Linked DNA regions of Homo sapiens: region 2 is linked to region 1. The links are contacts of gene promoters, found by promoter capture Hi-C in blood cells and fetal thymus (Javierre and others, 2016). All regions are on one chromosome and are shown on one strand. The core of a region is centred on a gene start or on the middle of the fragment in contact, and the rest is flanking DNA. Distances in the headings are between cores, read along the strand shown.

What was found. Contacts are between HindIII fragments. The CHiCAGO score rates a contact against its expected background, and 5 or more counts as called.
Region 2: a contact is called between a fragment that was not itself captured here and the fragment with the promoter of GRXCR2 in region 1, in 1 of 17 cell types (total B cells). The highest score is 5.3, in total B cells.

What each region holds. Positions count from the first base shown.
Region 1 is chr5:145,870,345-145,874,273 of GRCh38, reverse strand. It overlaps GRXCR2 (glutaredoxin and cysteine rich domain containing 2), which reads left to right and starts at 1,260. Exons shown (of 3, transcript NM_001080516.2): 1 at 1,260-1,641. The coding sequence starts at 1,306. The HindIII fragment of the contact is 6,212 bases long and covers 1-3,929 here.
Region 2 is chr5:144,420,310-144,423,982 of GRCh38, reverse strand. The region is part of intron 3 of KCTD16 (potassium channel tetramerization domain containing 16); the gene reads right to left. Among named protein-coding and RNA genes, the nearest start is that of KCTD16, 250 kb to the right of the region's middle. The HindIII fragment of the contact is 2,157 bases long and covers 781-2,937 here.

The DNA.
Region 1 (3,929 bases), core at 11-2,510:
CGAGATCGTACCACTGCACTCCAGCCTGGCAACAGAGTGAGACTCCGTCTCAAAAAAAAAAAAATAAAATAAAATAATAAAAAAAAAGAATCCAAGCGAATGGCTGTAGGGGAATAGGAGGGGTCAATTTGGGTAACTCAGTAAATGGTGATGCTGGTAGCAAAGACAGGGAGAAAGGCTTTACTCCACTTTCAGCTCCTCACATCCAACCTACCATTTTCTACCCAGCCCAAGGGCCCTTTTCTTTACAAACCTTCTTCCATCCTTGTCTCCTTAGAGACCACTTCCTTCCCAGAGTGGCTATTCTGGGATTCAGCTGTGGGCAGTTTGCTCTCTAAGCATGAGGTTATTATTTCACCTGTGTGAGGTCTGTATGGGATTGTAGGACTGTTCTCAGGCCCAGGTCACATGCTTCTGTGCTATTCACTCCAGCCACTAGTTCAGTGTCAGGCATTTACGAAGTCCAACAGGCAATGGGGACTTGTGCTGTGATTGCAAATGAAATCTTAAATGTAAAATACATACCAAGTGGAGGTGCTCTGGTTAGCGTAGGGGGAGAAGGCCCAGAATCCAGGACCCTCGGCCTTCTCCTGTTCTTAGCAGCAGCCTCCAAGAACCTCCACTGTATCTAGGACGTCATTCCCTCTTCTAGAACCAGAACTGGAAAACTTCTGGTTGTGTGGGCTGATCTTGGGTTTTGGAGTCAGATAGATCTGGGTTCAAATCCCTGCTCTGTCACTTACTTAGGTGTAATAGAGCAGACAAATGATGAAGATAAATGACAAGTGGCTCTAAGCCTCACTTTCCCCTGTGTAAAACAAAGGTAAGATTTTCTTTGTAGGGTTATCGTGAGGATGAAATAAAATAATGCATGTAACAATCTCTGGTACTTATGAAATGCTCACTAGATTTTAATTGTCATTGCTAACAATAAGAAGACACTTGTTAACTAATTGAGTGTCTGATCCTTATTGAATTGGCACATGTTCAGTCTAAATAAACTTCTTCATCCTCAGGTTAAGAAAGGTTAGGGTTGGGGTGAAGTCATGGTGAGCTTGGGATTATGAGAAGAATCAATCTTGTCTTATATTCCATCCACTCCATCAAACCAGAATCACCTGCCTTTTCATGAGGGTCTATCAATATTTAATGTATGGGTGTCAGTTGCTGTAAACTGACCATACCCCAGCAACAACTTGAATTAATTATATGCAGGAGGAGAGAAAATAAAATGCCTTTTTCTCAGAGGCCCAAGTTTCACCGGCTGCACGGAAGGCTGGAGACCACAGGGTCAACTTTCTGCTGATGGAGGACCCTGAGAAAAAGCTGAATCAGAAGAGTGATGGCAAACCCCGGAAAGTACGATTTAAAATCTCCTCCTCCTACAGCGGTCGAGTATTGAAGCAGGTCTTTGAGGATGGGCAGGAATTAGAGTCACCAAAGGAGGAATACCCTCACAGTTTTCTGCAAGAGTCTCTTGAAACAATGGATGGTGTTTATGGGTCTGGGGAAGTCCCCAGGCCCCAGATGTGCTCCCCTAAGCTGACTGCTCAGAGGATCAGTGTGTTTAGAGAGGGTAATGCCTACACCTTGGCAGGCGGCCAGCCTCGGTTCAACGATTACAAGGCGAATGACCATAAGGTTGGTATTGTGCATGGCATATAGGCTTTAAGGGTAGGGCTTCCTAAAACGTGTTTAGAGAAACTCCTAAATGGTTCAGATTTGTGTCTTGCTCCCCCTCCGGTACCAACCAGAACTGTTGGTGCACCAAATGGGAAGTTGTTATTAGACGAATATTTCTGGGGTAAAAATAACATGCTTGTTGACTACTAATTGGAAAGTGCAATGAGCATATATAGTATTCAAATTCCATCCAAGGTAATACATTGTAATTGGATCTTTGACTGAGTTTTCCTGGAATGTAAATTAAATAGAGGTGCAGTGGTTTTCAGGTTGTCAGACTGCGGTTTTAGACAATTATGCAGTCATTTTGTTTCCTGAAAGAGCTGAGTATTTGAAAGTGCTCATTTTACTCCAGCCAATTACTCAGCTTGCAGTTTATCCATGTCTTGTTTTTTACCCCTATTGCCTTCCTCATACTGCCTGCTTTGTCTATTTATTTTTCCTTTCCATTGCTCCTTAGCATAAGCTCTGGGTAGTTGGAGTCCTGGGAAGGGATGGTGAAACGCAAATCAGCCAGAGGATATGTTATGTGAGGAAGAAGTTTGAGCTAATGGTTCGATTGAAGAATGTGTTTAATCTATGAATTTCAATTACTTCCCAGTACCATGGATAATCAAAAGTCCATACATGATTTTCTTTTAAGGTAGAACCTGGAAAACATACACTGGTATCCAAAAATTCATAGGAGATGTATATATGCTGTCAGTGGGACCATGAATGACTTCTTAAAAAAGATAAAATACAATTATATAATGTATCCACGTTATTAATGAATAGCACACCAGGATGTGTTCTCATCTTTAAAGTGTGAAAGCCAGATAATTACTCTTGAATTATTTTTATTGTTAGTTTCCTAAGGGAATAGATAACACATCTATTGCAGACAAATGTATTACTGGCTTTACTGGCATTGGTAAAAGTATAATTATGGGCATGTTCACAATTACCGAAGATAACACTAGGCTTGTTTTTGATATTAAAAGGGGCTGAAATGAATGACCTCTTATCTTAATGGGGTGACGTATGCAGTACAAAGTGTCATCATGTACTATCTCTGTCTATATCTATGGCATTGGGTCTTTACTATAACCTTGGGGAGAAAGGCCAAAGTATGGTCATTCCCATTTTGCAGAAGAGAAAAATTGAGTGCCAAGTTGTTAAGGGATCCATCTGATACTACAGGGTCATTGGGTACAGAGTCAGAATAAGAATCCAGATCTTCTGATGCTACAAATGTTTTGCTTTAGGGCATGTTCCTTTTTTTAGAGAACCATATTATTACATAATAATAATAGCTACCATTTGTTGAGTGCTTATTAGGTCCTAGGCACTTGGCTAGTCTTGTACTTATACTATTTCTTTTTAACTATGTCTTATTTGTAGATTTAGAATTTACAAAGTCACAGTTCATGCAAACCTTATGCAAGGCCACAGTAGATAAATTTTGGGTTGCTTGATCTTCATAAGTCATGTGCTAAATTTAGCATTTATGAAAATGTATAATTTTTTTTTTCTTTTTTAGAGACAGGGTCTCATCTGTCAACCAGGCTGGAGTGCAGTGGTATGATCATAACTCACAGCAATCTCAAACTCCTGGGCTCAAGGGATCCTCCTGCCTCAGCCTCTCTGGTAGCTAGGACTATAGAATTTATAAATCTAGGTAAATGAGTCTTCATGGCAGCATGGCTCAGTTGGTTAAAACACAGTACTCTATGTGTTTTAGAGGCCATGTTGAAGGTCTGATTCCTGCTTGGCCTCATTATCTCTGTTTTCTTTGTTTCCTGATCAAGTGCCCCATCCCAATCATAGCCAGATTCTGAGCATGAGAGTGACCAGGATGGATTCATGTAGCTGCACACCCTGGAATCATTTGTCAATGTGGTATTTATGAAAAAGAAGAAAATGAGAGCTAATGTCATGACTTTTCAATAACGAATCCAAATGTAAAACACTTCCTAGTAAATATTGGCTATGAGACCACATTGGGTAGCAATTAAGTGCAATAATTCAAAGCAAGGGCTCTGAACTCAAACAGATATATGTACAACATTGTTCATAGCAGCATTATTCTCAATTGCCTAAAGGTGGAAAGAACCCAAATGTCCATAGACTGATGAATGGATAAACAAGATGCGGTATGTACATACAACACAATATTATTCAGTCTTGAAAAGGAAGGCCATTTTGACACATGCACAATGTGGTTGACCCTTGAAGACGTTATACTAAATGAAATAAGCCAGTCA
Region 2 (3,673 bases), core at 610-3,109, 1.5 Mb after region 1:
TGTGGTGGTGGATATCATGAAAATTATGCACGGATCTTTTTTTTCAGCTCATCAGCTGTCATTAGTGTTCATGTATTTTATGTGTGGTCCAAGACAATTCTTCTTTTTCCAATGTGGCCTAGGGAAGACAAAAGGTTGGACAGTGGTGGATAAAGCATAATTCCCAGGGAATGGTTATTTATTACTTTTTTTCTCTTACCTCCTCATCCAATCTCTCAGTGAATCCTGTTCATTTAATCTGTAGAATTAACTAAGAATCTACCTACTTGTCTCATCTCCACTGGGTTAGTTCAAGGTTTTTCCATCTTAATTCAGGGTTTTCCCATTTTAGTTTCATTTACATTTTGTGCTAAATATTTTTGTTGTTGTGAGAGGTTGTCCTGTGCATTGTAAGATACTTAGTAGTATCCCTGGTCTCTCTCTTCTAGATAGCAGTAGCAACCCCTTCCCAGTTATGACAACCAACAGTATCTAGAGACATTGTCTAATGTATTTTCTGAAAGGGCTGGGGGATGGGAGGAATGACCTGACTGAGACCCGTAACCTAGACTAAGAAGTCATTATCTCTCTCCTCTGTGCCTGTAATATTCTCTGACAGGTCTGATTGTCCCCTACAGTTCATTCTACACATAGTAGCCAGAGGAATATTTCAAAAGCATAAAACCAATTATGTCACTCCCTTGCTTAAAAGCTGGCTTCCCATGTTCCCTTAATAAAATCCTGACTCTACTGGAGCCCATGTAATCTTATGTGACCGGTGTCTTTGCTCCATTCAAAGCTTATCATCTACCACTCCCTTCCTCAATCACTTCACTCTAGCAAAATTGGCCTTCCTTCTGTTCCTCAAACATTCCATGCTCATTCTCACACCAGGTCATTTGAACTTACACTTCTCTCTGATGAGAATGCCATTCTCTTTCATTTTTCATATATGGCTCCATTTTGTCATTCAAGTGACTCAAATGTCACAGTCTTAGGAGAATGATTAGTTGCTACTTCATTATCTATCTTTGCTACTATGATGTGAGCTTATAAGATAAAGGTCCTTGTTGGTCCTCCCCCTGTAGATGCTCACTAAACACTTGCATAAACTATTGCATAAGGTTACTTTCACCTCCTAACATCCACATGGGGTATATATTCATTTTTGTGATCTACTGTTTTCACTTAGCACTAGACAAGGAGTATTTTGACATATCATTAGATATGCTTCTTAAACATGTTTTCATTTTAAATGGTAACATATTCTTCTACAGAATCCCATAGTCCCCTTAATAAATATCCAATTTTTGAGGATTAGGTCATTTCTTTACTCTTTCATTATATAAACTCATTTACTGTTTATTCAGTAGACAAAGATGATGAGAAAATTTGACTTTTGCTGTTGTTCAATACTATCCCACATTTCCCCAACTAGACAACCAGAAATTAAACACATAGGGCTGTACTATTTGGAGACGGAGTTGAGATGGCTCTGTGCCAAGTAATAAGAATAAATAGCACTTGCTGAAAGTTTTCAGTACAGCCTGTTGTATTTTTCACACAAATAGGGGAGGACAAATACTTCTACTTGTGGATCCGTTTGAAATTTTTAAAATGTGGATGTTCTAAATTTCAAGATGCTTAAGAAAGTGAGAAGATGAATACATGGCACACCATTCCAATTCCCAAATCAACACACAATCAAACAGAAACATTTAGATGTAAATCAACAGCTTAGAAAGCCTGGTCCCTGATTCTCTTTGACAAATACTAGACCACAGCCTTGATGATTATCAGCTCAGCAAAGCTAATGGCATTCACTGGTTTTACATACTAAGCAGCCCAGAGTTTAGCCAGACAATTTGTTTCTAGTTTTACATTCTCTGCTTTGTCACTCAGAAAGCAGAGACTGTAGATGACATTTAAGAGTCAGAGTATGTGATAAGTAGATGAGGGACATTGGTTGAAATTCTGTCAGGGAACTCATACCAAGTTTTTTATTAAAGTTCTACTGCACATGTAGACAAATATTTTCCTATCTAGGGCCTTTATGGCTAATTCAACATCCCATGCCTTTTAGTACAAATAAGGTAAGATGACCCAAATTCTATATGATTTCTGTCCACTTGTTTTGGATGGCATTAGACTCTCCCCATCAGAGTGTCTCTTATTTACTTTCTCCCTGGATTCTAAGGGTTGACTTTGGTGTTTTCCAGAACAAGCCTATTCACATTCCTCATCTTTATCATTGTTCCTACAATCAATGTCCATGCTAGGTAAGCAAGTCCGGAATGTGCCGAAAGCTGCCAATCCTAGTATTGCTGGAGTAATTGTAACGTCTGTGCAACAGTGGAGACAGTAGCCCTATCTTTGTCTCTCTGCTACACTCTGTCACCTAAGGCTTTGAAAAAACAAATTCCTTCAGCACTGAGTCACTCTCTTACCCCACTGGCATTCAAACTGAGTCCAAGGAACCAGATGGAGTACTGATGGCATGATATTCTGTCTCGTTTCAAGTCCCAGGTACGCACAAAAATATTCTTCCTACTCCTTTATCCAATGTGCCGCAGTCTCCTTTATAAATCAACCCATGCAAGTAGATAACTGACTCCCCAGGACAATAGATTTACACATGGCCCAACTACAAAAACAAATTTGGACACAGGGGAACCTTAATATAGGTCATAAATCACCTTTTTGCAGAGAGAAGTGGGGCCTGAGAGACTCATTTGATTTCGCTTTGAGATTGTCTTTTGTTTTTTGTTTTGTTTTGTTTTGTCTGGTATGATTTTGAGAAACTCAGGAAATACCCACATTAAACCATTCAAAGTTAAGGACAAAAAACAAAATTTTTCAATTAAAAATAAGCAACCAATACATGTCTATACTTGCCCTGTGGCCTGTCACATAACAGCTGGGAAAAGGTCTGGGAAAACAGAATAACAAAGTGAAGCTTAAAACCACTGAGGTAGAGAAGGAGCAGAAAGATGCTTGAGATACTAGAATAGAAAGAGGCTAAAGCAGATTACATAAATCTGATTTCCTCTGCTCAAATTCCTTCTATTGGCTTTGAGATGACTTTCATCAAGCGTGAAATTCACATTCGGAGGGCAATCCAAACCAATGCCATCAGGGAAGTTATTCTGAGGGTTATCTGTGAGCACAAGGCAGCGATTTTTGCCCCAGTCTCTCTCCTTTGATAGGTTTCCCAAGAATATTGACCTCCAGGATATGCTGAGGCTTACAGACAGGTATTTTCTCTTTGGTTTTATCAGAGATAAAGCAAAGGGTTGAGCCACATATATGCACCTATACATGATGCATTAGACCCTACCCAAAATGAAAATTAAAAGCAGTTCCCCTGACAAAGAACACCCAAACATGGATTCAATCCTCAGCCTCTATAAAAAAAGTACAGTTGTTCTATTATAACCATGGCCTCTGAAGAGTAAAATCCATGAGTGTGCACACACACACACACACACACATTTAAATAAGTCACTTTGGACCCATATTTGATTCCTGTTTCTTTCTTATCTCCCAGACCCAATCAGCCACCAAGTTTGTCAATGTCACTTCCTTTATTGCTATTATTATTATACTTTAAGTTCTAGGGTACATGTGCACAACGTGCAGGTTTGTTACATATGTATATGTGTGCCATCACTTCCTAAATATCACCATAATCTGC